Regions from separate parts of the Homo sapiens genome. Here all the other regions are linked to region 2. The links are contacts of gene promoters, found by promoter capture Hi-C in blood cells and fetal thymus (Javierre and others, 2016). All regions are on one chromosome and are shown on one strand. Each heading gives the region's core, a stretch centred on a gene start or on the middle of the fragment in contact. The rest is flanking DNA. Distances are from core to core; before and after follow the strand shown. Region 1 overlaps OXCT1 (3-oxoacid CoA-transferase 1). Region 2 holds the start of CCDC152 (coiled-coil domain containing 152). Region 3 has its middle 13 kb from the start of RIMOC1. Region 4 overlaps FBXO4 (F-box protein 4). Region 5 overlaps RIMOC1 (RAB7A interacting MON1-CCZ1 complex subunit 1). Region 6 overlaps LOC102723752 (a long non-coding RNA gene).

Region 1 (4,471 bases), core at 1,717-4,216, 930 kb before region 2:
GCATTTTGCATTCTCACCAGCAATGATTGAGTGCCTGTGATTTTACATCCTCGTCAGCATTTGGTTGTTAGTGTTCTGACTTTTAGCCATTCTAATAGGTGTGTAATGGCATTTCATTTAGGTTTGCAATTCCCTAATGATATGATGTTGAGCATCTTCTCATATGCTTATTTGCCATTTGTGTATCTTCTCTGGTAAGGTGCCTGTTCAGATTTTACCTATTTTGTGATAGGGTGATTTTCTTGTTGTTGAGTTTTAATTGTTTTTGCATATGTTTGACACCAGTCTTTTATAAGATACATGTTTCAAATATCTTCTCCCAAACCAGAGTTTGTCATTTTTTTCCCTGTACAGTGTCTTCCACAGAGTAGTAGTTTTTAATTTTAACGAAGTCCAACCTATCAAGTGTTTTTCTCTCAGGGATCATGTTTTTATCTAAAAAAGCATGGCCACTTTTTTCTTATTTCCGATGAGTTTTCTATTTTACACTTACATTTAGTTCTTTACTCCTTCTTGAGTTAGTTTTGTCAGTTATTTTAATAGAATTTAAATAAGAAATTGAGAACCAAAAAGGCAAAAAAGCACGCAGGTGACACGGATCTAGTAACTGCAGGAGGAACAAAGAGAAGTAAATGGAACTGGTGATGGGGCCAGGGGTTTCTCAGAGCTGGGATTCAGACCCCTACTGGGAGTGACAGGAGGCAGCCAGTACTGGTACTTCTGAAGCTCATGAGGCTAGTTCTGCGGTAGTGGTTTGGGGGTGGGAGGAGACCAGAAATAAGAACTGCCACACCATAAACACTAAGAATTTTTCTGTTTTTGTGGAGAACTGACCTCTTTATCATTATGGACTAGCCCTCTTTATCCCTAATAATTTTCCTTGCTCTGAAGTCTACTTTGTCTGAAATTAATACAACTGCTCCAACTTTTTTTGCTTTGTTGTGTTTTGAGACCATTTCACTCTTTTGCCCAGGCTGGAGTTCAATGATCTCAGCTCACTGCAACCTCCAACTCCCGGGTTCAAGCGATTCCCCTGACTCAGCCTCCCAAGTAGCCAGAATTACAGGCGTGTGCCACCATGCCCGGCTAATTTTTGTATTTTTAGTAGAGACGGCGTTTCACCATGTTCATCAGGCTGCTCTTGAACTCCAATCCACCTGCCTTAGCCTCCCAAAGTGCTGGGATTACAGGTCTGAGCCACCGTGCCCAGCCTAATTGCTCCAGCTTTCTTTTGATTAATGTTAGAATAATTTTTTACATTCATCTCTTTACTTGTAATTTGTGTCTGTATATTAAAGTGGATTTCTTATAGACAACATACAGCTGAGTCTTGTTTTTAATCCACTGTGAGTCTTAATTGTTCGGACCAGTAATGTTCAAATTATTTAGTCGGATTAATATCTACCATATTTGCTACTATTCTCATCATTGTCCTTGTTCTTTATTCTTTTTGCTCTCCACTCTTTTCTGCATTCTGTAGTTTTAATTAATCTTTTTCATACAATTCTTTTTCTGCTTTTTTTGTTACACTTGAGTTTGCAATATACATTTACAATTAATCCAAGTACTCTTTCAAATAACACTATATCACTTCACAGGTAGTGCAAATATCTTAAAACATGGTATCCCCAGCACTTGTCTCTTATAACATTACTATCATTCATTTCACTTGAAGGCAGGCCTTGTTAAAAAGAGAACGCTCTGGGTATATTTCAAAATGTCCACTTTTCCCCCCTCCCCTTGCCAGAAGCACAAGGAAATTTTCCTTTGGTCTTCACCAAAACTCTGGTAGGGATCCTAGACATAAAACTCACAGAAATATGAAGCCCCTCCCAAGACCAGACCACTCTGGAGTCTAACTCTCAAACTTGTCCACATGAGCCTCCAACAATTCATCAATTACAGTTTGAGCTTTTCTACCCCAGGACTGGTTCCCATGGAGATTTCTGCTACTAGGCTTCTGCTCCAGTCAGTTGTGATTCTCCGTATTAGCCTGTCTCTCTCCAATTTGGGTGGCAGTGGTTTGCCCTGTGACTTTAATCCTCTGACGGATCTAAGAATAATTGTTGATTTTTCAGTTTATTCATCTTTTTTCTTATTGTGAGAATGGGTGTGGCAACTTCCAACCTCCTGGCACGTTAGGCCTGAAATTGGAAGTGGCTATTTTTTAAATAATCATTACCAGTAGTTACTATATAGAATCCTAAAGTTTCTATCTTGAATTCAAACAACTATATAATACTATCTACCTCATTTTCAATTGGGGGGAAAAAAACATTCTGTCTTCCTAAATGTGAAGGTTCTCATTTTACAGCTTTTAGGAGATTATCCTATTTCATATTTTCTAAAAGGTTAACATTACTGAACAATTCTTAATTTTGCATTTATGAAAGTATTAACATTATCCTGGGGCTACACTAAGTTAACTGAAAAATTCAGTCAGCTAAAGGTCTATGAGCCTGCAAGTAAGGAGACTGTAAATTAGATAAAAATGTTAACATTGCAAAGCATAATGTAAAATGCACCTCAAAATATACCAACCGTCATTTGTTTTTGCTTCAGAACATAAGCTTTAGAGGCACAAAGAAATGTTTAGATCTTAACTCTTCCCCCTACCAATTTTGTTATCTTAAAGTCTTTCCTTATCCTCATTTGTTCTTCTATAAAATATACACAATAAAACCTACCTCACTGGGTTACTATAAAGTGCTTTACATGTAAGTGCATGGTATAAACAGAAGTTGTTGCTATTGTTGTTTTCATAATTATTAGGCTATATATCTCCTTCAACTTATATTACCATTATTGAAAATATTTCAAGTATAGCATCTACCACACTCTGTGTAAAGCACATCTTAGCTGTATAGAGTCTACTTGGACCATTTCACTGCCCCTATTTCCTGGGAATGAATTTCATTAAGAAAGTTTTCCATTCCATTTTCCTATCTCCTTATAAAACCTAGTCCTCAATTTACATATAAAATATTACCTTGTACATTAAAAACATAAACCAAAGAGGAAAAATAAGTGAAAACATTTTGAGTGCAAACATATTCAGATGCCAAGAGCACTGAACAAAAAACTATAAATAAAACAGCAGCTAAAATACTTTTTATAGCAGAAGCTGAGTTATAAAAATGTCTTTCAGATTCTACTTAATACTACTTTTATTTCTAAAGGTCTAATTCCAATTCTAAGAAGACAATTCAAGATGAATGAGTTTTGTAAATTCCTCAGAGAAAGTTAAATTACACCAAAACTTTCAAACTCATTCTTAATCTCATAGCTTTTTATAGTTAACCTGTATTCGCCTGAGTTTGGTAATAACGATGAAATTTTCTTCTGAGTTTTGTCTGTGTCGGCAAAGCTTTTCCAAAATTTAAAGTGAAATTCAAAACTGAACAGAACTTTTTCACAATACATGGCAAAACTTGTATCCTTTTCTGCAACTATTAAGGAAACTAAAATAGATTCTTTAAATGAATCACCCAGATCCTTTTCACAGAAGGCACAGAAAAGGTAGCAGGGTTCTTCACATTCCAGTTTAACTTTCCTCAGGTAGGATTTGTATTTAGAATTCTCTTCGAAGAACCCAAATATGTTCTCAGTGGCAGAAACACTGTATATTATCATTAAACTTCAAAGGCTGAATAAGAGAGAAGGTGACCTATACTTTTGGACATGAGTGGTTGAAGAATCTGAATGTGGACTTTGTTACTCAGTGGCAGAAACACTGTGTATTATCATTAAACTTGAAAAAGCTGAACCAGAGAAGGTAAACTCTAGTCTTAGACATGAGTGGACTTGATTTCTTCATGGAATAAACCACAGAGTAGAAGACCATTACATTCTAACAGTTAAGTAACTCTTGGTTCCTAGTCTTAGGAACTGTTAACTGTTTTAAAATATTCCATCCAAAAACAAAAAGATATTTTCATAATTCTATAAAAATTCAATAAGGCAAAGCTATCATAAGGAAGAAAAGAAAACACTTCCTTCCACATAACTTACATTTTGGACCTTAAGTCCCTCTGTGTTCAGGGAGTTGTATGCCCACAGGTGAACAGAAAGCATCAGTATCTGAGGCCCTCTTTATTTATGTCCCCAAAAGAACAACAGATGTGACTTTCATTCAAAAGAAGTCATATGGCTCTTGCCTCCTCTCTCATCACATGATCTCTTTGTGCACACCCACTCCTCCTCCAATTTAGGCCATGAGTGGAAGCAGCATGAGGCCCTCACCAGACACAGCTACCCAGTCTTGGACTTTGTACCCACTAAAATCATGAGCTAAGTAAACTTTTCTTTCTTAAAGAATAAAAAAGTCACAGTGGTTATTCAGCACAAGCAAGTTTTAAGCAGGAAATAACTTTAATCTTCATCCCAAACCAAAATATGTGAATCTTTTGAGCCAAAGTATAAAAAGAGATAAAATGGGTCATTAACTAATGCTCCATATTTCAAATACAAA
Region 2 (4,508 bases), core at 1,996-4,495:
CATGGTTCCTCCTGAGAAACTTGTATGTTTTCTCCTCTTTTACAAAAATAAATAAATAAACTAAGTAGTTAAGCCTGTATCCTTTTTTATTCCAACCATCAGTAAATTCAAAGCCAAATTTGTAGCAGAAATATAAAAACTTTGTTGACCTACAGGCCAGAGTATTTCTGTTTTATTTCTCTACTGCTCTTCAATTTCTAATTTATATTTCACCTTGTATAGGTGAAATATGTATGTAGCATTTTTAAATAAATATTCATGGAAATGAGAGCAAGCTGAAATTTCAGCAGTTGGTGAATTTGATTCAAAGACAAAAAGCATGGCCTAAACAGAGGTAAGAATATCGAGAGAGTTAAATAATAGGGCTGGAACAAAGGACTCCATAGATTAGCCAAACCACTTATAAACATTTGCTGTGATATGGGAGCAACACCATAATATTTTGTTGTTATAATATGCCGGTGATAGTAACTAAAATAATCAAGTGAGATTCCAATGCCAGAGCAATATTGCCAATAACATACACTAGATTTCAATCCTCTGCTAGTCTCTCCTTTGAGACTGTAAGCTCCAAGGCAAAAGGAGAGTCTCTTATTTGTCTTTGCTCTCCTTAGTGCCTAGACTTGCAGCAGCTGATGTTTTGTAAGTACTTAAATATTTTAGAATGAATTAATGAGTGAAGCTGTTTTCAACCTAAAAAAATCAATGTATCACTCATTTTAAGATCTTTATGTACATAAACCGGTAGCTTCTGATTTTTTTTCAGCTGCCCAGGTACATATGCATTTCTCTTCCAAATCAGGGTATTTTTAATGAATTCCAGTGTTACTTTCTTTGTTAGTATGACAAAATAATGTAGTTTGTTTCTCTATTTTGGTTTTCCAGGCAGTCTTAAAATATATATTAAATAAATCCTTGATCTATCAGAAAATAAATATTCTCTTTTTTCCCAACTTTTATTTTGGGCTTGGGGGGTACATGTGCAAGTTTGCTACATGAGTAAATTGCATGTTGCTGACATGTGGTGTATGAATGATCCCACATCCAAGTAGTAAGCAAAAATGAATATTTTCTGAGCAAATATTTGATGAATTCTGTTTCTCAGTTGGATGGTATCTGAAGAATAAGACTGTGAATACAACTGTGAAACACATTCACTTTTTAAAGATGAAATCATGACAAGTTCATTTAGTTTCTCATTGAAAGATGCACTCTAAACCTACTAGAATTCTTTGAAAAAAATGCTAACATCTATAAACTGGAAGATAAACTTGCAACCCATTCTAAACTAGAAAAATTAAGCTAAACTTTTCTGACTTATTCCTGATGTGTTGGTTCATTTCTATTTTCTCTATGGTAGGCTCTATGGAGAAATATATACATATACATATATATGTGTATATATATATACATATATGTGTGTTTGCATATATACATATATATATATATAATATTCCAACTTTCTTAGTCTCTACATCCCAAAATCATTAGATAGTCAAAGCTTCTGTATTTCAAATGTTGGAACATCCAGAAGATTTGGAAGTACAGATGAGGCAGGGGATCTAGGGAGCTCCCTCTCCACCTTACACATTCCAGTCACCACATATTTTCAAAGGACTCCTGAAATTTGCCTAGGATGGGCCTAGGTGGAACTTAATACATACATACATACATACATACATACATGCGCGTGTGTGTGTGTGTGTGTGTGTGTATATATATATATATATATATATATATAAAGAAAATAGAGTTTCTTCCCCCAAGGAGCCAATAATAAATACAGCAAAAGAGGTAATACATCAATTCAGTCTTAACAAATGCCACAGAAAGCTAGCATGTTCCATAGAGTAAGGAAAGGTAGATCACAACTGATTGATACGATCAGTGAATGACTCATGGAGAAGGTAGCATTTTAGCATTTAGGGTCTTAAAATGGGCTTGTTTCAAAAGTTATTATGACATGAGTTACATGGAACATTTTATATTTGCTAATTGGGTAGAACCCGCAATTCAGCAGGTCATTTTCAATATTTCTATGTGTTGCTACTAATGTTAGGGAAAGCTTATTTGAGCAGCAGAGTGAAGACTACAACCCCCATTTTCCACTTTAACCTAATTTTCTTGCCATTATGCCACACTACCTTTCAACTAGTAAAGTATGGGTTATCATATTACTGTTTATATTTTTTCACTTGCCAAATTTTGGAGTCTATCGAAAAATCACATTAACAAAAATAAACCTCCCATCTCCCACTCAGAAAAAAAAAAAAAAGCAGATGAGCAAAGTTGGCAGTGGATTCGCTTTCAAACTATTACTGAACAACATTCAAAAATTCTAATAATTAACATTTCTGAACACTTACTTTAAGCAAGGATCTCCATTAAGCACCTTATAAATGCATCACTTCATTTAATCATCACAACCGTCCTAAGAGGCAGGCTTCTTTTTTTTTTTTTTGACTGAGTCTTGCTGCTGCGGGTCTCGGCTGGAATGCAATGGTGCGATCTCCGCTCACTGCAACCTCCGCCTCCCGGGTTCCAGCAATTCTCCTGCCTCAGCCTCCCAAGTAGGTAAGATTACAGGAGCCCGCCACCACGCCTGGCTAATTTTTGTATTTTTAGTAGAGACGGGGTTTCACCATGTTGGCCAGGCTGGTCTCCAACTCCTGACCTCAGGTGATCCACCCCCCTCGGCCTCCCAAAGTGCTGGGATTACAGGCGTGAGCCACAGCGCCCGGCAGAGGCAGGCATTATAATTAATCTCTTATACAGATGAAGATGCTTAGGTGCATGAAATTAAGAACTTACCCACTATCACCCACGGAAAAAGAGAAGAGTTGGGGTTTGAATCCACGCAAGAGCCCACGCCCTTAATCATTAAGCTACCAAGATATAACTCTGTAGATGGGAAACCATATCTATTAACTGGCTCTGGAATTTTAAAAGGCAATTTTATAAGTTACAAAAATAGATATGGATAATTATTTATTCAATGGAGCTGACTCACAATTCAGAACACCCAATGTGATTTATTCTTTGGTTGGGGAAACAATTATTGATCCGGTGTTGATTCATGTTCTGGAAACCACATGAAAATACCTAAGCAGCCGCAGATGCTGAGCGGAGCTGGGCCAAGTTGGTAAGAACTGCTGGTGGTAGGAGCTCCAGCATAGCGCACAGGGCGGGCCCAGAGAAAGGCGGGCCCATTGTTGGGGGATTCGGCTTCCGGAGGAGGGGACAGCATTCAGGGGTGTACCAGGCCCCAGAGGCAGCGGAAAGGGAGACTGTGGGGAACTAGGAGCAACAGCAGGTACACTCCAAATTCTATTGACGGTTCGAAATTCCCGCTTTCTCCATAGAGATTCCTTTCTTCATATTTCATTACAGTGCTCTGGGTCCATTACAGGCTTTTCTTTTCAGACACCTCTCTCACATCCGCGGGTCCTCGGCCCCCATCCTTTATTTTTGCTAGGCCGCTAAGGACGCTAGAAAGCGATTCGAAACTCCCGCTTTTTCCATAGAGATGCTTTTCTTCTTATCTCCTTACAGTGCTCTGGGTCCATACAGGTTTTTGTCTCAGGCACTTCTCTCACATCCGCGGGTCCTCGGCCCCCATCCTTTATTTCTGCTAGGTCCCTAAGGACACTAGGATGACGGAGAGGGAGCCAGGGGACCCAGGCTTCAGGACTGAGAGTGAATTCTTGAGGGGAGGTGAGGAGGAAAGAGGAGGGACCAGAGCGTGGGGCAGGCGAGCGGCGAAGGACCAACTGTGTGGGGTAGGGGAGAGGACGAGCCCCGGGACTCAAGCCAGCAGACAGGAGGACCCAAAAGGAAACGGAACTGTCACGCTCCTGTGGGGATGGTTGAAGCCAGCAGGCAAGAAGACAAAGAAGGAAATGGGACTTTCACTTGCCTGTGGGGACGGTTGAAGCTGAGCCTTGAAGGTCACAAATCAGTCTCTGCGGCTCACTAAGGAATTTGACAAGCACTGAATCACCAGCTTGACACCGAATTTCACAGGGCAAGACCATATTCACTGAAAGGATCTTGACCTAAGAAATCAGAAGAGCAGGCAATGAAGATACCTAGAAATGAATTGCCTGGCTCTGCCATTATGGCAAAAGGGATATCATGCAACGATAGCAAATGGAATATTAGTGATGGTTTTACAAGGAAATAACAGGGTCTTCTTTGGGGGAAGGAGTTGAGAGAAAATCAAGCTCAAATTTAAATGCATTTATTTCAAGAGCCAGATTCTGAGACAAAACCCTAGTAAAACCTTTTTTATTTAAAAGGTTAGGTACCAAAAAAAAAAGGTGGGGGTGGAGGGAGTTTCCATTAACTACTTCAGATTACTATGTAGCACTATTAAAGAATAACAGTACTATCAAACAGCAATTATTTTTAATTTTACTCCAAAAGGAATTTTACTGTATCATGGGAGGCTATTAACAAATATTTTTCTGCTGTAAGGATCAAGTTTTAACTATTTAAGGGATTTTATA
Region 3 (4,901 bases), core at 1,933-4,432, 860 kb before region 2:
GTCTCTGTCTCAAGTATTCAACTCTGCCTTTGTAGGACAAAAATAACCATAAATTATATGTTACAAATTATGCAAGGTTGTGTTCTTAGAAAATTTTATTTACAAAAACAGTTTGGCTGGATTTTGTCAGCAGGCCATAGTTTACCACACTTAAATTATAATCCATCAAAATAAACTTTTTTAGAATGTGGAATATTAAGGTTCAGTCTCTGCATAAAAATCAACAACCAGAGGAGAGACTTGTGCACAACAGTATGAGGATCTCATGGACCCACTCCCTAGGGAAATGGGTTAAAATTATTTTTTGAAAGACTCAACTGTATAGAGTTTCTGAAAATGGCCTAAAAGACATGTAGCAAATAAGAAATGTTTATTCCAGAAAATCTGTAAAAATCTGGCAGAGCAAAACCAAACACTGACATTGGCATTTGCAGCCAGAGAAAGTGAGGCATTTATTTCAGGACTCCAAGCACGGAGAATCAGGTAGGATGCTTAAGACCAGAATTCCTCAGTGGCCTACATGCAGGGGTTTTAAAGGCAAGGAGGCAGAGTTACAGGCAAAGCCATAACTCAATACATGGAGGCTATACATCTATTTGGTCTAAAGAGGTGGGGCATCTTGCAGCAAGGGGTCACACGTTATTGGGAGATTTAAAGATTCTCGGATTTGTGATTGGTTAAAGAAGCGAAGGTTTGTCTAAAAACTTGAGGTCAGCAGAAAGGAATATTATGCTCTGGACTTTGGGCATGACTGTCCAGGATCCGCAAGAAGAAGTTTAGAACAAAGAACAGTGCTCTAAGTTCAGTCTTCAGTTCTCACTTATCTGAAGTCTGTATGCCAACAGATAGCATTTTCCATTTTGTGGAGGTCTAGGTTTCTGAAAAACAATTCAGGAACATATGTTAAGGTGTTATCTTTAGTTTCTATAGGGAAGCAAACATTTTGTGACTCTAATTTCCTTCACTGTTGTTTTAAGCTACCTTCTTGTTTATCAAGTTGCTCATTTACTACTCAAGGCTAGCTAGGTCCTTGGAATTTTCCTTGAAGGAACTCAAGATTTTCCTTTATTACCATGCTTATGGGGGCGTGGAAGGCCCCTAAAAAGGGTCTTTGCTCCATTTCAGGTTCATTGATGATAAAAGCTGTAAACCAAAAATAAAATTTTAAGTCCCACAACTAACTTAATGGACCTCCCTTCCAACTAAGGGGATTCCAAGGAAACATGAAAAACTATTAATAGTTGAGGCCAAGATGGCAAGAGAGGGAGTCAGACATGCTTCATTATACCCTCTCCCTTTGGGAGTTTAGACACAACTGAACAGCGTTAGCATTAAAAATAGAGATCCTAAGACTGACAGAGCAGACTCTTTGTAGCAATGTGTTACCAACTCAAACCTGATTGTGGTATAACATCATATGATAGATAAGAGGCCCTAAAAGAAATAAAAGTATTTTACTCCAAAATGTATTTCTTTTTTTGTTTTTTTCTTTTTCTTTTGCTCTGCCAACCAGGCTGGAGTGCAGTGGCACGATCTTGGCTCACTCTAACCTCTCCCTCCCAGGTTCAAGCAATTCTCATGCCTCAGCTTCCCAAGTAGCTGGAATTACAGGCCCATACCACCACGAATGGCTAATTTTTGTATTTTTAGTAGAGATGGGGTTTCACCATGTTGGTCAGGCTGGTCTCAAACTCCTGACCTCAAGTGATCTGCCCACCTCAGCCTCCCAAAGTGCTGGGATTACAGGCATGCCACCACACCTAGCCCCAAAATACGTTTCTTTAACATATTTTGGAATAGTCCTGCAAGTCTGCCTCATGTGGGGAAAACATACATTCTATAGAAAATTCCCTTCCCTTTCCAGGTATTTTCCTGATCTACAAGTGATTTAACAAGGAGTCTGAAAACTTTTAAGGCCCAATTAGAGACATTTACCATCTATTCCCTCTGAAGCCCAGTACCCGGAAGCTTTATCTACATAACAAGAACCTTGGCTTCTATAACCTCCTTTATCTTAACCACAAGCATTTCTTTCTGCTGACTTCAACTCTATAGGCAAAGCTTAACTCTTTCAACCAATTGTCAATCAAGAAACCTTCAAATCCACCTATCACCTGGAAGCCACCCCCATCCCTTGGAGATGTCCTGCCTTTATGGGCTGAACCAATGTATTCTTTACATATATTAGTTTATGTCTTTGCCTGTAACTTCTGTCTCCCTAAAATGTATAAAATCAAACTGTAACTCAGTCACCTTGGGCACATGTTCTCAGGACCAGAGGTAGTGTTATGACTCAGAATAAACCTCATCAAATATTTTTCAGAGTTTGACCTTCTCTGTCAACAAAGCAAAAGGCAACTGGAAGGTGATTAGTAGTTTCATTGGAGATATAAGGTAAACTGTAGGTCTGCTAGTTTGTTGGAGAGAACCAGAGGAAGAGGCAGCTGTGGGGAGATCACAAGGGGTCAGAATAAATCTCAATAACTGACGACAGGAACTATTCCTTCAAAGGAGCCCCTTTAGATTGATTTGGTCTGTGGAGCTATTTATGCCCTCAAGGCATTGCTGGAAACAACAGAACACTAACTAGAAGTTACTAGTGCTTGATAGTTAAGATGTGGTCAGGGAAAGACATAATCAAAAAGTGACCTAACCACAGCAACTGTCATCTAAAAGTGACTCTGAAAGTATCACAAAGGCTGGGCCCTGATGGGCATCAGAGGCTTCACACTGGGGCTTGGGGGTTGTGGGGATGGATATAAATTCTGTTAAAACAATGCTGCTGGTCACTAAGCAAATAGCAATAACAAAGTATGGGCAGGGGGTGAGAACAGCACTCAGAGTTGCTACAGTTTATTACCTAAAATGTTGAGTTTTCAACAAAAAAATTATGAGACATGCAAAGACACAGAAAATTATGATGCTTATAGCAGGAAAAAAAAATCAGGCAACAAAACTGCCTGTGAGAGTAACCAGATGTGAGATTTCAATAGTAGCTATTATAAATATGTTCAAACAACTAAAGGAAATCATGATTTAAAAAGTAACATGAGATGACCATGTCACATCAAACAGAGGTTACAAATAAATAGAAACAGGCCAAGTGCAGTGGCCCATGACTATAATCTCCCAGCACTTGGAGATGCCAAGGCAGGAGGATTGCTTGAGCCCAGTTGTTCAAAACCAGCCTGGGCAACAAAGTGAGACCCTATCTCTACAAAAATTTTAAAAATTAGCCAGACATGGTGGCATGCATCTGTAGTCCCAGCTACTCAGGAGGCTGAGGGAGGAGGATCACTTGAGCCAGGGAGGTTGAGGCTGCAGTGTGCTATGATCTCACCACTGCTTTCTAGCATGGGTGACAGAGCAAGACCTTGCCTCTAGGGAAATAAAAACAGAAATAGAAATAATAAAAGAGAACCCAATGAAAATAATGGAATTTTCAATAAAGTATAATTTACATGAAAAATTCATACAGGGGCTCAACAGTAGATTTCAACTGATAGAAGAAAGAATTTACAAACTCAAGCATATATCAATAGATTCTACAATCCAAAAAATAGAAAGAAAAATAAACCAGGAAGAATGAACAGAGCCACAGAGAAATGTGAAAAACATAGGGCAATGACGTATGTATAGTGGAGGTACTAGAAAGAGAAGAGAGAGAAAAAGGAGCAAAAAATATTCAAAGAAACAAGGGCTGAAGCTGGGCGTGGTGGCTCACACCTGTAATCCCAGCATGTTGGGAGCCCAAGGTGGGCAGATCACTTGAGGCCAGGAGTTCAAGACCAGCCTGGCCAACCTGGTGAAACCCAATCTCTACTAAAAATACAAAAACTAATTGTGCATGGTGGCATACGCCTGTAATTCCAGCTACTTGGGAGGCTGAGGCACGAGAGTCGCTTGAGCCTGGGAGGCTGAGATTGCAGTGAGCCAAGATCACACCCATTGTACTCCAGCCTGGAGGACAGAGTGAAAATGTCTCAAAAAAAAAAAAAAAAGGAAAGGAAAGGAAATGAAGGGGAGGGGAAGGGAGGGGAAGGAGGAAGGGAAGGGAAGGGAGGTGAAAGAGAGAGAGAGAGAGAAAAGGAAAAGAAAAGAAAACAAAAGAAAGAAAAGGTTGAACACTGAAGAAATTTATTTATTGAAAGGCAATCTGGACAACCAGGAAGCTCAATAACTCTAAGCAGGAATAGTGTAAAGAAATCCACACAAAGACACATCGTGATAAAAATAATGAAAGTCAAAGATCAAGAGACAATCTGCAAAATATCAAGAGAAAAATGACTTGTCACTTACAAGGGAAGCTTAGTGATATTAAGAGCTTACTTGTCAGCAGAAATAGTGGAAAACATAAGATAGTGGTATAACATATTCAAAGTATTCAAAAAACAAGGTCAATCATGAATCCTACACCCAACAAAGCTGTCTTTCAAAAATGAAAGCAAAATAAAGACAGACCTTCCCCAAGAAACAAAACTGAAAATGTTTACTGTTGTCAGACTTGCTATATAAGAAATAATAAAGGGAGTTCTTCAGGCTGGAACTAAATTACCCAGACAGTAATTGTCAGAAAATATTTGTAAAACATACCTCTCATAAGGTACTTGTATCTAGAATATATAAAGAACTATTATAAGTTGGTTATTAAAATATTAATAACCTAATTTAAAGTGGGCAAAAGATCTGAATGGACATTTTTCCGAAGAAGATATGTAAATGACCAATGAGCACATACAAAGATATTCAACATAATTATTCATCAGGGAAATTCACATCAAAACCAATGAGATACCACTTCATGTGGACAAGAATGGCTTGTGAGAATGGCCACTAATCAAAAAGTGACATAATAACAAATGTTGGCAAGGATGTGGAGAAATTAGAACCTTCATAGACTG
Region 4 (5,031 bases), core at 684-3,183, 820 kb before region 2:
AATAAAATTTAGCCTTTGCTTTACTTATTTATTGAGAGCCAGCCCCTATAAGTGAGATGATAGGGATGCAGATTTAGAACAATGTCTCTGTTTGCCTTCAAGATAGGTGTAGGTGAGGACATAGACAAGTGTACAGATAACTAGAATATGATGTATTTAGTTCCTGGGTAGAAAGGTAACGGTCAAAGAAGGCTCCATATTGATGATGTCTCATATGAGTCACTAGGGTGAATAGTTGTAGGCCATCACAAAAAGACAGTAAAGGTGTTCCAGGCAGCGAGAACTACATTTTTTTCTTTCTTTCTTTCTTTCTTTTTTTTTTTTTTTGAGATGGAGTCTCACTCAGTTGCCCAGGCTGGAGTGCAGTGGCGCGATCTCGGCTCACTGCCAGCTCCGCCTCCCGGGTTCACACCATTCTCCCGAGTAGCTGGGACTACAGGCGCCCACCACTACGCCTGGCTAATTTTTTTGGTATTTTTAGTAGAGACGGGGTTTCACTGTGTTAGCCAGGATGGTCTCGATCTCATGACCTCGTGATCCGCCCACCTGGGTCTCCCAAAGTGCTGGGATTACAGGCGTGAGCCACCGCGCCCGGCGGAGAACTACATTTCTAAAAGCACAAAGCTCTGGATGTAGAGGACACATTTGAAGTATCACTGTGTATCTAGAAAGAGTGGAGCTATGTGAAAAGACACATATGTACCATGCTTAAGCATTTGGGAGCTGCTGGAGGATTTTAAGTAGAGGATTGAGATGATCAAGGTTGCATGTTAGAAAGATTACTCAGGCTCTTGAGTGAAGAATTGATTAGAAGGGGCTAAAGATATGGAGACCCATTAAGAAGCCACTGTAATGTTATGATTAAAATATGAAGAGGATCTGAACTCTAAGTCACTGTTAGTGAAGATGAGAGAAGAGAATGAATAGTAAGGATATAAAATTGACAGAATAAATGTATTAGCAGTAATAAGGATGGCTCCAGGTTTCTGACTTGAGTTTTTTGTTGGATGATAGAGGATTCACTAGGGTAATAAATCACTGGAGAAGTTAAGAAAAATTTGGAAGGGGCAGGTAACAGTAAGATCTGTATAGGGAGAATGGCAGCTATTCTTTGGAATATGTTGACTTTGATAACTCCATGGAAGATCCAAGTAGAGATACCTACTATAAGCAAATCTGCTAGAATGGAAGCTCCATGAAGGTAAGAGTCTTGTCCACTTTATTTTTAGCTATATCTGTGGTGCCAGGCACATAACAGGCACTCTCTGTATATTTGGTGAATGAGTGAATGACTTGATGGATTACTGTATGCATCCAGCTCTCAAGAGCAAGATCTGGGCTAGAAAATCGAGATTTGGGAGTCATACGGAGTCCACATGGACTTGGAAGTTTTTGAGGATGGAGAGGAAGATTGGAGACAGGTGCTGAAATGTTCAGTTTATGTTTGGGGGAAGTGACTATTAAATGGAGATTCATAAGTAATAACGACAAAGAAGGAAAGAGTGCTACAGCTGAATGATGTGTTTCTCAAGTAGAAGGATTTTTTTCAGAGGGTTGGTGAGTAATTGTTTAGATATGGCATTGGGAGTTAAGAGAACATGAATCCCACCTCTTTACCTTGAGTTTTGAGAAAATAAGCATCTTTGCTACTTGAGAGTTCACTGCAGGAGAAGCCTCACCTAGGGGTAGGCCAATTTCAAGTGTGGCTATTAGGTCAAAGGAACACCTCAAGAAGAGGTTGAGGAAATGGGGAAGTTTGATGGTTATAAAATGTCAATTCCATTTTCCAGAGAGCAGCTGAAGTGATTGTTTTAAAATTTCAATTTATGGCTCACACTCAGCAAGACGAGAGAATATGGGGTTACATAATTGGCAAAGAAGGGCAGAACAGTATGGCGACTATATTGGGCTGAAGTTAGACGTGTTGAGAGGGTAATCTCTGGGAGTGCAGCTGATGAAAACAAAGATCAGAAACATGGTAAAGTTTGATTCTGTGGTCTCTGTGAAACATGCACCAGACCTGGTGGCTGGAGGACTAGGATCACATGGCCTGGCATGGTTGCAGTCTTAGTACTTAAGAGCCCTGTGTGTGTGTTGCCTAGAATGATGACATGAGATGGTATGGCATAGCTTATTTAAACAAATAAATTAGTTATAATGCAGGAATTAAGAGTATGAAAGGCTGGAGTTGTCTCTAATGAGGTTAGTAGGGACCAGATATTATGGTTTTATTTCTTCATCTGAAGGGCAATGGCTTTGTAGAGAAGACAATTAGATACCATTATTAAAAAATTCTTCCAACTGATGTCAGAGGAAAGGATAATAGGAGGCAAGAAGATATAGGAGACTGGTTAGAAGTGATTGCAGAGGCCCGGGTGAGTGATGATGACAATGTGAACTAAAGTGTGGTCATGGGGATACAGAGAACTGAACAGATCTAGAAGAACATTTATATAACAGGATGAAGTAGAGCCATGGAAGCCCAGAAGGGTCTTTTGAGGAGGCAAAAGGAGAACCAGCCACTTAGTGTTAACACAGTCCAAGGAGGGAAGAGGTTAAGAAAGAAGGACAAATAACAGTGGCTAATGATTCAGATACAAAGCAGTAAGAAGCTAATATTTAGCACTTGTGGTTTACTAGTCACCCTACTAGGAGTTTTACATGTATGATCTCGTTTAATCTTCCCAGTAAACCTAAGAAGAATATATTAGTTCAACTTCTTTTTGGTGTCAAACTGAGGGATACAAATACATGGCTATAAGTGAGAAATTCAGAATTATAATCCAACTCTGACGAATTCTAAATTTCAGTATCTTCAGTATTTTCTCAATTTACTAATGTTCTCTTGGCAACTCCTCAGTAATTTATTATTATTTTTTGAGACAAGGTCTCTGTTACCCAGGCTGGAGTACAGTGGCATGATCATGGCTCACTGCAGCTTTGAACTCCCTGGCTCAAGTGATCCTCCTACCTCAGCCTCCCAAGTACCTGGGAAACAGGCATGGGCCACCATGCCTGGATAATTGTTTTGTATTTTTTGTAGAGATGAGGTTCTCACTATGTTGTCTAGGTTGGTCTTGAACTCTTAGCCTCAAGTGATTCTTCCACCTCAGCCTCCCAAATTGTTGGGATTACAGATGTGAGCCACTGTGCCTGCCCCCCCCATCAATTTAAAAACAGCTTTTCAGAGGGGGAGAAAGACACTTAATTGAATGTATACATTGATTATTAGACTAATGAGAAACATAAAAATATGAAAATGAGTCTTAGTCTTGAGGATAAATAGTAGTAGCTGTGATTATGCAGCTGCTACTGATAAGATGATAAAGTTGTTGATGATAGTGATGATGATATAAGGACTGTTATAAGCCTTGCAGTTTTTTTCTTTCTCTGTATTTTTATTGTCATGTGAATGAAAGTTACATACGGTATCTTTTCTTCAACGTATACATTTTATTTCAACTCTATGTATAAGTTGTTATAGAATTTTTTCTTTACTCTTTTTGCTTTCACCGGGTAATTTTCAGTGTGATCTTTTGCTATTTTTATTAATGATTTGTTTTGGTAACTGTGATTTTCTTTCTTAGGTATTGGATCAGGAGTCAATTTTCAGTTGAACAACCAACATAAATTCAACATTCTAATCTTATATTCAACTACCAGGTAAGGCTACATACTTGGTGGCTTAACTGAAACATCAGAACTAAAACATTTCAGGTGAGTGGAGCCTGTTTAGTGTCTTTTTATATTCTGTCTTTACAATTTTTTTTCTAGAAAGGAAAGAGATAGAGCAAGGGAAGAGCATACAAGTGCAGTTAACAAGATGTTCAGTCGACACAATGAAGGTGATGATCAACAAGGAAGCCGGTACAGTGTGATTCCACAGATTCAAAAAGTGTGTGAAGTTGTAGATGGGTTCATCTATGTTGCAAATGCTGAAGCTCATAAAAGTAAGTACTCATATGTACATTTTTAAGCACATTGTTCTTTTCAAAGCAAATGGAAAATACCTTTTTAGACTTTACTGTGGCTTCTTAAGAATATGATGGCTTATTTTATCAATGTGATTTTCTGACCCTTACTATTAATAGTGTGTTCTCACACTTTTGTGTGTATTAGGATCACCTGGGAAGCTTGTTAAACATGTTAACAAGCTGATTCCTACCCTGGTGGATTTTATTCCTAGATTTGGGTTGTGTGAATCAGATTTGGGCATCTGTTTTTTCCAAGCACCCAGGGAATTCTGATGCATTCCAAAGTTTGGTACTAGAGCTATACAATATTTTTTTGCTTTATGCTTCTGCATTTTTTTGATACTGACATTTTGTCTGCTTCTGGCTTTATTCAAATAATCTATGCAAATAACTATGAAAAATTTTATCTTTGTTTTATCCAAATAGTAAAGAGATGTGATGGTAGGGTGTTAAGTAGATTAGTTGAGAACACTATTCATATATTCTGAATAATTGCCATTCAGAATGCTATTTTTGTGTGAAATCAAAATATCATTGGGCCATGAGCTAGTATTATAATATCTTTCCCAAATCCTTTGTGAACAAGGTAGAATATAAATACATAATATATTGTATATATATTATAGTTCTCTAATACACTGGTTTGAATTTCTATTCAATTTATTTTCCCTGTGATCTGTTAGGCATGAAAGCAGTTGCAATTACTTTCTGTTATTACAGGGCTATCTATAAAAAGAAAACTTAGAAGCAAAATAAAAGATAAGTTCATTTAACAAATAGTGTTTTAGTTCCTACAGGCATGTTGCAGTTACAATTGGGAACTAAAACAGATATAGCCCCTACTTTTATCTAGTTTTCCAATCTGCTCCTATAAAACAAGCACACAAAAAATAAATTAAAAAAATTTACAAGACACAAAGAGACTATACTCACTTATCAGCTTTTTCCCACTGGCCTCTACTAGGTGCTCATGTAAAAGGTTAGTGGTAAGGCAGGAGACCTATGAGTGCCCTCCTTGGTGGTACAGGCATGCATGTGATGACCAGCTGGTGCTTGA
Region 5 (4,973 bases), core at 466-2,965, 840 kb before region 2:
TTTCTAATCCCTTGTGTTTAGTAATTTTGGAAGTTATGTATTGTGTTCCTTCTGCTCATTTTGCATCCTCACACAGCCCTGTAATTAGTCTGTTTTCACACTGCTATAAAGATACTACCTGAGACTGGGTAATTTATAAACAAGAGAGGTTTAATTGACTCTCAGTTCCACATGGCTGGGAAGGTGTCAGGAAACTTACAATCATGGTGGAAGGGGAAGCAGGCATGTCTTAAATGGCAGCAGGTGAGACAGAGCATGTGTGAGTGCAAGAAAAACTATCATTTATAAAACCATCAGATCTCATGAGAATTCACTCACTATCACGAGAACAGAATGAGGGAAACCACCCACATGATCCCGTCACCTCCCACCAGCTTCCTCCCTCAACACCTGGGGATTATGATTCAAGATGAGATTTGGGTGGGGACACAGAGCCAAACATATCAAGCCTCTGTCAGCATATTATCAGTACTAGATTTGGCTACTTGTAACCGAATGGAAGTAACTTTTCAACAAGGTAGACATTTAGTGATCTTTCGCACAGTAAAGGTCCAGAGCTGGTACAGTGGCTCCATCTCATCATGTTCTTACCTTTTTCCTCCATTCTTCTTTAAAACCAGACCCCCTCTTCATGGGGAGGCACTTTATATAGAACATAATATAAATGATACTTTCCAGACTGTGCAGCATGCATCTCTGTTTAGGACATTGCTTTTATTCTCAGTATCCCAAGATGTTCCTGGAGCTCCTTCAATCTCACCTGTGTTTCAGGCTACAGGAATGGCAAAAGGGAATTTCAGCCAAGTCTGTTCCTTTAGACCATCATTCTCAGAAGTTTCTTACAACCTCCATTTCACTGGCCAGAATTTAATCAGATTACTTTACTTAGCTATAAGGAAACCTGGGAAGTATAGTCCTTAACCTGATACATTGCCATCCCAAATAAAATTAAGATTCTTTACTAAGAAGGGGGTATTGGGGAGAATGAATACTGGTTGGCAACTATAAATTTCTGCCACAAGCGTCTGTGTACTTGAAAATTCTAGGAACTGAATATAGAGCATCATCTGGGTTTTAGACTTGTGTGTGAGGAGAGAAGAACCACTTACTTTTACCATCTCCTTATAAATGGAAGAACTGAGATCCAGGTAAATGCAAGTGAATTGTTCAAGGTCATATAGCTGCAAGTAACATTAGATCACATGTGTAAACCTTTTTATACTTCATCTGAAGTTTTGATGGGAAAAAAATGAAATGTGAAGAATAATTAGAGTACCTCTTTGGAAATATTCTAGTATATTAAATATGTTTTAATTCTTCCTGTTTCTTTGTTAGCCTCTCCTGGATTGTTCTATTTGAAAGCATTTCATAGAAAAAAAATAGTGATTTAAGTGACCTGATGGCCAAAAATTATTACTTTCTGCTCATTTAGACAAATATTTTATTCTAAAACAACTTATTGTGAATACAAAAAGCTCCCTCAGTGGGCATGACATTTTGACAAACATAGGATATTTGATGTAATTATGGCAAGTATATACTAGTTATTAGTTATTTCAGATAACTAGGAACCAATCAGAGGCATTGAAAATGGCTTTTAAAAAATTTCTATTTATACACATGGACTGATTAAATTGAATTCTTAATGTGGGACACTTTAAAAGAAAAAGGTGGGGGTAGGCACTACAGCTCATTTAGAACCAAAGGGAGTGGCACAAATCACCTGTTTTCCTAATTCTCCCATTTCCAGTTATAAAGTAAGACATTCTCATAACCTGGAGTTTTTTCTTCAGGAAGCATGTAATATTGGTGGCGTCTCTTTGTCATACTTTGAATTTACTAGCTCCTAGTTTCAGTTGGTTCTTCAACAAGGGAATTAAAAGGGTCAGATAGGGTAGCATTTTCCAGGCAAAAAGACACAGTATAGGCACCATAGCAGTTTGCTACATACTGTCCTAAGTCCTCTTAGGGTGTCGGCCTTTTGTTCTCATCTAAAGAAGTTTGCGCTTGAACCTAGGAGGCGGAGGTTGCAGTGAACCAAGATCTCACCACTGCATTCCAGCCTGGGGGATAGAGCCAGACTCTGTCTCAAACAAAACAAAACAAAACAAAACAAAACAAAACAAAACAAAACAAACATAAGTTTGCCTCCTTTAGGAGGCCAAGGCAGGATGATCACTTGAGAAAACTGGCGCCAGGAGTTCAAGACATAGTGAGACATCATCTCTGCAAAAACTAAAAAAAAAAAAAAAAATTAGCCAGGCGTGGTGGTGCATGACTGTAGTTCCAGCTACATGGCAGGCTGAGGTTGGAGAATCAGTTGAGCCCAGGAGTTTGAGGCTGCAGTGAGCCCTGATCGCACAGCTGCACTCTAGCCTGGGTAACAGAGTGAGACCCTGTCTGAGAAAAAAGAAAAAAAGGCTGCTTTGCCCAAATGTATCTATCTGAACACGATTAGATTAGAAGCCAGGAAACCTACTTTTCATAGGCTGAATTACTCCTAAGTCCTAATTTGAGAGGCTCAAATTATTTTTTGTTAGTCCATATAAAATACAATTCTGAGTAATTCTTAGCATTTAGGGAGAAAAGTTCTATATGAGACATCAAATTTTCTGTGGCTAGATCTTGGTGATAATTTACCTAATTTTAGATAAAACTCAAAACTGTGTATGGTTTTTGTTACTTTTTCTAAGGTAAGATAATCATATTGTTGTTTAGACATTATCTGTATATCATTAAATTTTATGCAGTAAGCCCTTGTATCTCACCTCTGAGTCTCATTCTTCTGTGAAATGGGGCCAGAGAATTTTAATCTTTGGACATGGCCTTATCAGATAAAAGGGTTATAAAAATTGCATTGTCAGAATAAACCTGGAATCACATGGAGGTAAATAAAAAACTGTCCAACTTTTACACCCTTTGTTTATGCCCTTAATACCACTGAGGAGCCTCCCACCCCTACAAATCAGAGCTGGTATCACAAAAGGTTGTATGAGTGGGAGGAGTGTGATGAAGAGAGGTTGGGTTAATGGGTACAAACATACAGTTAGAAAGAAGGAATAAGTTCTGAAGGCAAAAGTTTGAGAACCACTATTTATCATATAGCCATTTGTATTAGTCCGTTTTCATGCTGCCAATAAAGACATACCCAAGACTGGGAAGAAAAAATAGGTTTAATGGACTCACAGTTCCTCGTTGCTGGGAGGCCTCATAATCATGGCAGAAGGCAGAAGGCACTTCTTACATGGCGGTGGCAAGAGAGAAGGAGAGAGAAGTGAAAGCGGAAACCCCTTATAAAACTATTAGATCTCTTGAGACTTATTCATTACCACAAGAACAGTATGGGGGAAACCGCCTCCATGATTCAGTTATCTCCCACTGGGTCCCTCCCACAACACATGGGAATTATGAGGGTACAATTCAAGATGAGATTTGGATGGGGACACAGAGCCAAACCATATCACCATTCATTCAGCTATTCTGCTGAGCCTGTTGTTTCTCTTGCTACTCTTTATAAGCAGAAATTGAGGTGAAGTGAAGGTGAAAACTGTAGGAACAAATTTTGATACTTTAAAAAGCTTGCAATAGATTCAAACAGAAACTACCACTATTTTGAAAGTTGAATTTTTCATATCCAGTGCCATCATAGTCACTTTTGTTGAATCATATTAGGTGAACAACAGACATTGTGATGCTCATTTATTTGAAGTAATCTTTTCTAATCACAGAAGCACATTAGAATCCATCATTTATTTTTTCTTCAATGGCTTTAAGAAGTTACATTTTTATTTCTTTTATGTTCTTTAGGAAAATTCAGGAATTAAGTAGGGGATGCAAACTCCTTATTTTTCAGATTTAAAACCTGAGATTCAAAGAGCTTTGGTGACTTGCCCAAAGACACAAAGCCAGTAATTTATACCCAGATCTTTTTTATTCTAGGTTTATTTGTCTTTCTGCCAAATTAATATACTTTATGCACCATAAATATTTAATTATATAATTGCCTACTGGAAAAACTACCCATAAGAAGAAAGAGTTCAACTTTTGATGAAAATTCTGCAGCATACTCTCTTTTTTTCTGGTAATACAAAGCATCTTGGAAATAACACCTTTAATAATTTAAAATTGTATGGACTCTCAGGCATGATTATGCATGATAATTTCTTAGACTTTTAGAGAATATAAGAGGTCTAGGATACTTGACTTTAGCTATATGAATTATCCTAGAGCATACCCCAAAATAAAGGGTGTGTCCATGGATGTAATTCAGGGAGTTTATAAGTACTCTGAAATTGACTGCAGAATTTGGGGTGTATATTCTGGGAGAAGTTCTATTCCTTAAATTAGATTCTCAAAGAAGTTATAGAGTGGACCCCAAAAAGGTCAAAAACACCTAAATGGTTCTCTAAAAAAATTCTCTGGTACTCTGTTTTTCTTTTTGTAATGGGCCTCCTTTATCAGTAAAATCGATATTAAAAAATGCTAATTAAATGAAGATTGTGTTAGTCATATTTGGCTTTTGTGTTACTGTTAAAGTGAGAATAGAAAATGCTTAATGACAAAAGGAACTTTAATTAGAGTTTAGTTAATAACTACGGTTTCTTTTTAAGCTTTTAATTCTAATCTGTCAACCTAAATGACTTTCCCAGGAATATTTAGTGACATTCATCTGCTGGCTATGATGTACAGTGGAGAAATGTGTTACTGGGGATCGAAGTATTGTGCTGATCAGCAACCAGAAAATCATGAAGTGGATACTAGTGTGTCTGGAGCGGGCTGCACTACATACAAGGAACCCTTGGATTTCCGAGAAGTAGGAGAAAAAATCTTGAAAAAGTATGTATCTGTGTGTGAAGGACCCCTGAAAGAACAAGAATGGAATACAACGAATGCAAAACAAATTTTAAACTTCTTTCATCATCGCTGTAACTAGTAAGTTCATCTAGTCCTTTTCAAATAGAAAAACAACAAAA
Region 6 (4,738 bases), core at 1,764-4,263, 880 kb before region 2:
TTAAATGTTGCATGCTATGTGACTAAGTCTCCTGAGAAAATCACCCTAATTACTGTATGGTCAAAACACACTGTACTGTATTTTTGATGACTGTGACTTCATTTTATACTTTTTAAATAATGTGCAAGTCTCTTCAACTTGAATAAATTAGATTACAAATTACAAAAAAAGTTCTTATGTGCTGATTTCACTTCTAGTTACACAAAGGCACTTCAATTTTAATTGGTGTGCAAAATTTTACTTCTTTTAAATATCTGAACTTTTCCGAACTAGTAAGGATATTTCCCACTTGCTTTGAAAGGCAGTTTCTGGCAAATATGTTATATTCTGGAAACCTTTCTTTGTGGAATCTTACAGTTTAACTTCCACACTTTTAAAAACTGGGAGAATTGGATTCAAAGCCTTTAAACAAAAGGTCTGATTCCAGTCATGCAATGAGGAAAGATTTTTTTGTTTGTTTTTTTGTATTTTTTTTTGTTTTTTTGTATTATGTTATGATACGTATGTGTATGTGTGGGTGTGGGTGTACATACACCAAGTCATGTGCTACATAACATTTTGGTCAATAATGGACAGCATATATGATGGTGGTCCCATAAGATTATAATAACATATTTTACTGTAGCTTTTTTATGTTTAGAAATGTTTAGCCATGTGCAGTGGCCCACGCCTGCAATCCCAGCACTTTGGGTGGCCAAGGCAAGTGGATCGCTTGAGCCCAGGAGTTCGAGACCAGCCTAGGCAACATGGTGAAACCCCGTCTCTACAAAAACAGACAAACAAAAAAATTAGCTGGTGTGGTGGAGCACACCTGTAGCCAGCTACTGGGGTGGGGTGGGCAGTGGGGACTGAGTAAGGAGGATTGCTTGAGCCTGGGAGGCAGAGGTTGCAGTGAGCCGAGATTGCTCCTCTGCATGCCAGAGCAAGACTCTGTCTCAAAATAAAAGAAAGAACAGAAAAATTTAAATACACAAATAACTACCATTATGTTACAATTGCCTACTAAATATTGTACAGTAACATGCTGTACAAGTTTGTAGCCTAGGAGCATAAGCCATACCATATAGCCTAGGTGTGTAGTAGGTTAGACCATCCAGGTTTATGTCAGTATATTCTGTATTAGCACAATGACAAAATAGCCTAGCATCTCATTTCTCAGAACCTGTCTTTGTCATTAAGCAAGGCATGACTGTGTGGCACCATTTTATCAGATACATGCAGGTAATGTGTCAGAGTTTATTAGATTGTAAATTATTCTCTGTTTTAAGGAGTTTCATTTTAATTCTCCTAAAATATGATGCATTAGCATATCTCATTAGTGCAAGATATGACATCCTATTCTCACAGTTGATGGTGTACTCCCCAGGATGATAACCAGGGGCATCTGAAGACTTGTTTTTCAAATGTTGATTAACTGGTTTCACTAGAAATAGCAGTTTTTAAGTAGGTCATTTGAGTCACTTATAAAAGTGCATGCGTGCTTCATTTTATCACAATAGTCCTTTAATATATGGAGAACATAGTCCTTCAAACAATTTGCTTCTAGTAGGTTTGAAGGACATAAATCTGAAATTTCACATAAATCTGTAAATCTAAGTATTGTTTTATAGTGCAAGACACCCATTAATTTGCATATTTTGCAAGCTTATTTTCATAGATCCTTTAAAGGAGTCCCTTGTATTAACTAGTGTGTATTTAATATTTGTTCAATGATTAAAGAAAAAATAGATTGATTTTTATAAAGTGTAGTTTTCTCAGAAAAAAAGTAAAATAAATGCATGAGATACTTGGAGAGGGCTTAAGGCCTGGAATGAAATTGAAAATTATGATAAGATACTAAGGAAACCTAAAAGAGTAAAATGCACCAGAGTGATCTTGTATACATTCAAGACTGATCACTTTATTTCTGCTTAAAACCTGTCATTGGTTTTCCCCACTGCCTTTGAGATCCAAAGTTCATACTTAATAACATGACATAGAAGAGGATCATCTCTTCTGGTCTTCCTTTCCCCCACACGTCTGCTTTATATTTCAAACTATATGTGCCTCTTGATTTTTACACAGTGAATTTGCACAACCTCAGAATCAAGTGTTGACAGCAAAATAATAAAGAGCAGGAATTCTGTGGTTAGGCTTCTAGGGTTCAAGTCTCAGCTCTGCAGTCTCTAGCTATACGGCCTTCTGTGGTGCAGTAGTTAAGCAGGGCTTACAGAATGTCAAGATGTAAGGTAATCTCTAGATCAATATTTGCATTATTCAGGTGTTAAAAGATTATACATTATTAATTATTTCCCAGATGCTATCTTAGTCCATTCTTGCTGCTACAACAAAATATCTTAGGCTGGGTAAGTTACAAGAAGAAATGTATTTCTCACAGTTCTGGAGGCTGGAAAGTCCAAGATCAAGGCACCAGCATATTGAATATGTTAAATTAAATTAAATTTGGCCAAAAGCTGCTTCCATACTTTGGAATTCTGCATAGCAAACTGCACCTAAGTTAGTGTTTAAATAAACCTTACTTAAGAGTATGTTCTTGTAACAGATAGCTGAGTCTCAGCTAATTACAGCAGCCAGGTTTCATCCAATCACATACTACCAACTAATAAGACCATGTCCACATAAGGCAAATGCCACATTGCATTGTGCCCAAATAAGGCAAATGCTGGGCCATAATCAATCAAGCTGTTTCTGTACCTCAATTCCTCTTTCTGCCTATAAATACTGCCTGCTCACATTGCTGAGTGGGGCTTTCTGAACCTCTACTGGTTCAGAGTGCTGCCTGATTCATGAATTGTTCTTTGCTCAAATAAACTCTGCTAAAGTTAATTTGTCTAAAGTTTTTCTTTTAACAAGGGTCTGATGAGAGCCTGTTCCTCATAGATTATACCTTCTCTGTGTCCTCACATAATGGAAGGGGCAGAAGACATAAACAGTTCCCTTGTACCTCTTCTATAAGGGCACTAGTCACATTCATGAGCTCTCATGATTTAATCACTCTGAAAAGCCCCATATCTTAATACTATCACACTGGCAATTAAGTGTCAACATATGAATTTGGGGAGGACACATTCAAACCACAGCAGGTGCTTTGGTTACTGAAAACATAAAGTAAACTGAAAAATTTACTTAATAAACTGAAAAAAATAAGGCAAGATTCAAACCCTGGACCATATGTTATTAAAAGCTGCTATTTCTTTATACCTCCCTCTTTCTGAGATATCTTTGAATCTTACCCCAACTCTCCAGTTTCACTCATTCTGCACTACTTCAGGGCCTCAGTTTCAGTTTCTCTCATCTGAATTATTTCAGTTTCCTTCCAAATGAATTTCCATTCTCCCTCAATTTAAACATACTTAAAATTATTATTTCAAATACAGGATCTGGTCTTCTCACATCTTTTTCTAAAATATTTCAAGAAATGCTCAAAGGCTGCAAGTGAAGTCCAACATTCAATTATAGGCAAGATTTTGTTTAATCTAGCCTCAACAAATCATGTGGCCTTAAGGGCTCTGCAGAGGTACTTCAGGGGCTATGCAAACATTATATTTTGAAATTAAATTTTAGATTACATTTTTACTATTCTATCAACACTAACAAAAGGAGCATGCACACTCAATTGTGATCTATCTTTGATTTAAAAGTATTAAAAATTACCAGATTGTGGCTGGGCATGGTGGCTCACACCTGTAATCCCAGCACATTGGGAAGCAAAGGTGGGCAGATCACCTGAGGTTAGGAGTTCCAGACCAGCCTGGCCAACATGGTGAAACCCCATCTCTACTAAAAATAAAAAATTAGCCTGGCATATGGCACATGTACTCCAAGCTACTCTGGAGTCTGAGGCAGGAGAATCACTTGAACCTGGGAGATGAAGGTTGCAGCGAGCTGAGATTGCACCATGTACTCCAGCCTGGGTGACAGAGCGAGATTCCATCTCAAAAAAAAAAACAAAAAACAAAAAAAAAAAAACAGACCAGATTGTGCAGTTGGGAGACAAACCTTAGATTAAAGGTTCCTCATCATCAAATTTCCTATATTTGAATATATAAAATATGTCATTGATAAAGATGTTTGTAGCTCTGTATTTATCTTTTTATCATTTAGACCTCTGCATTTTGACTCACTTAAATTTATATAAGTATATAATACTTTGAGGCTCTGGTCAGAGACATGTACTGCCTAGAATTATTTCTTATCACAGCATTGTAGTTGTTCAAAAAGAGCATATAAAACACTTCATGATAATATTGTACTATAAATAGTTTTAGAGATTATTTTCCATTTTGGCTACATCTTGTCTGACATTTACATATGTGAACAAGAGGTAATTGACATTATTAGTTATTGACCACTGAAGCAAACATTTCCTGCTACTTTTCTTTCAAGCTTCTGATCTACTTTAATTGAAGCATATACTGAAATTCTGGGACAAGCTGCAGTGTGAATCAGAACTTTCTTATTATTGTGCAGCCAAACAGAAATAAAATAAGCAAAATATCAGATATAACTCCATGGCTGCAATATTTAGCTTCTCCGAAGAGCTTCATTATTCTCATTTTTTCCATGTATAACAGGAAAATATTTCACAATTAAAATGATAAAATGCATTTAAACTGTAAAGTACCACTTTTACACATTGTATATGTTGGGTTCTAAATACAATTTTATTTGAAAGGGTGACTCATATTAAATATGTTTGAAAATTATGGCTTTAGCTAAATTCGACTACTTTCTGCTC

The links. The method cuts DNA at HindIII sites, captures the fragments that hold promoters and counts their contacts. A CHiCAGO score of 5 or more calls a contact.
Region 1: a fragment that was not itself captured here is called in contact with the fragment with the promoter of CCDC152 in region 2 in 1 of 17 cell types (naive B cells); the score reaches 5.1 in naive B cells.
Region 3: a contact is called between a fragment that was not itself captured here and the fragment with the promoter of CCDC152 in region 2, in 4 of 17 cell types (M1 macrophages, monocytes, M2 macrophages and 1 more). The highest score is 9.2, in M1 macrophages.
Region 4: a fragment that was not itself captured here is called in contact with the fragment with the promoter of CCDC152 in region 2 in 3 of 17 cell types (M2 macrophages, monocytes and M1 macrophages); the score reaches 7.0 in M2 macrophages.
Region 5: a contact is called between a fragment that was not itself captured here and the fragment with the promoter of CCDC152 in region 2, in 2 of 17 cell types (M1 macrophages and monocytes). The highest score is 5.6, in M1 macrophages.
Region 6: a fragment that was not itself captured here is called in contact with the fragment with the promoter of CCDC152 in region 2 in 4 of 17 cell types (monocytes, M2 macrophages, M1 macrophages and 1 more); the score reaches 7.8 in monocytes.

Annotation. Positions count from the first base shown.
Region 1 is chr5:41,821,551-41,826,021 of GRCh38, forward strand. All of the region lies in intron 7 of OXCT1 (3-oxoacid CoA-transferase 1), which reads right to left. Among named protein-coding and RNA genes, the nearest start is that of OXCT1-AS1, 46 kb to the right of the region's middle. RefSeq lists an enhancer at 422-923. The HindIII fragment of the contact is 797 bases long and covers 2,569-3,365 here.
Region 2 is chr5:42,753,573-42,758,080 of GRCh38, forward strand. CCDC152 (coiled-coil domain containing 152) reads left to right here and starts at 3,246. Exons shown (of 9, transcript NM_001134848.2): 1 at 3,246-3,313. RefSeq lists enhancers at 3,301-3,802, 3,803-4,302. The HindIII fragment of the contact is 10,296 bases long and covers 2,064-4,508 here.
Region 3 is chr5:41,889,209-41,894,109 of GRCh38, forward strand. No RefSeq gene overlaps it. Among named protein-coding and RNA genes, the nearest start is that of RIMOC1, 13 kb to the right of the region's middle. The HindIII fragment of the contact is 2,246 bases long and covers 2,060-4,305 here.
Region 4 is chr5:41,930,359-41,935,389 of GRCh38, forward strand. FBXO4 (F-box protein 4) reads left to right here. Exons shown (of 7, transcript NM_012176.3): 4 at 3,588-3,663; 5 at 3,775-3,950. Among named protein-coding and RNA genes, the nearest start is that of FBXO4, 7.6 kb to the left of the region's middle. The HindIII fragment of the contact is 4,396 bases long and covers 1-4,131 here.
Region 5 is chr5:41,912,367-41,917,339 of GRCh38, forward strand. RIMOC1 (RAB7A interacting MON1-CCZ1 complex subunit 1) reads left to right here. Exons shown (of 6, transcript NM_175921.6): 6 at 4,650-4,973. The coding sequence ends at 4,933. Among named protein-coding and RNA genes, the nearest start is that of FBXO4, 10 kb to the right of the region's middle. The HindIII fragment of the contact is 3,721 bases long and covers 1-3,576 here.
Region 6 is chr5:41,872,072-41,876,809 of GRCh38, forward strand. All of the region lies in intron 1 of LOC102723752 (a long non-coding RNA gene), which reads left to right. OXCT1-AS1 (OXCT1 antisense RNA 1) reads left to right here. Exons shown (of 3, transcript NR_046635.1): 3 at 1-170. Among named protein-coding and RNA genes, the nearest start is that of OXCT1, 4.0 kb to the left of the region's middle. The HindIII fragment of the contact is 2,742 bases long and covers 1,643-4,384 here.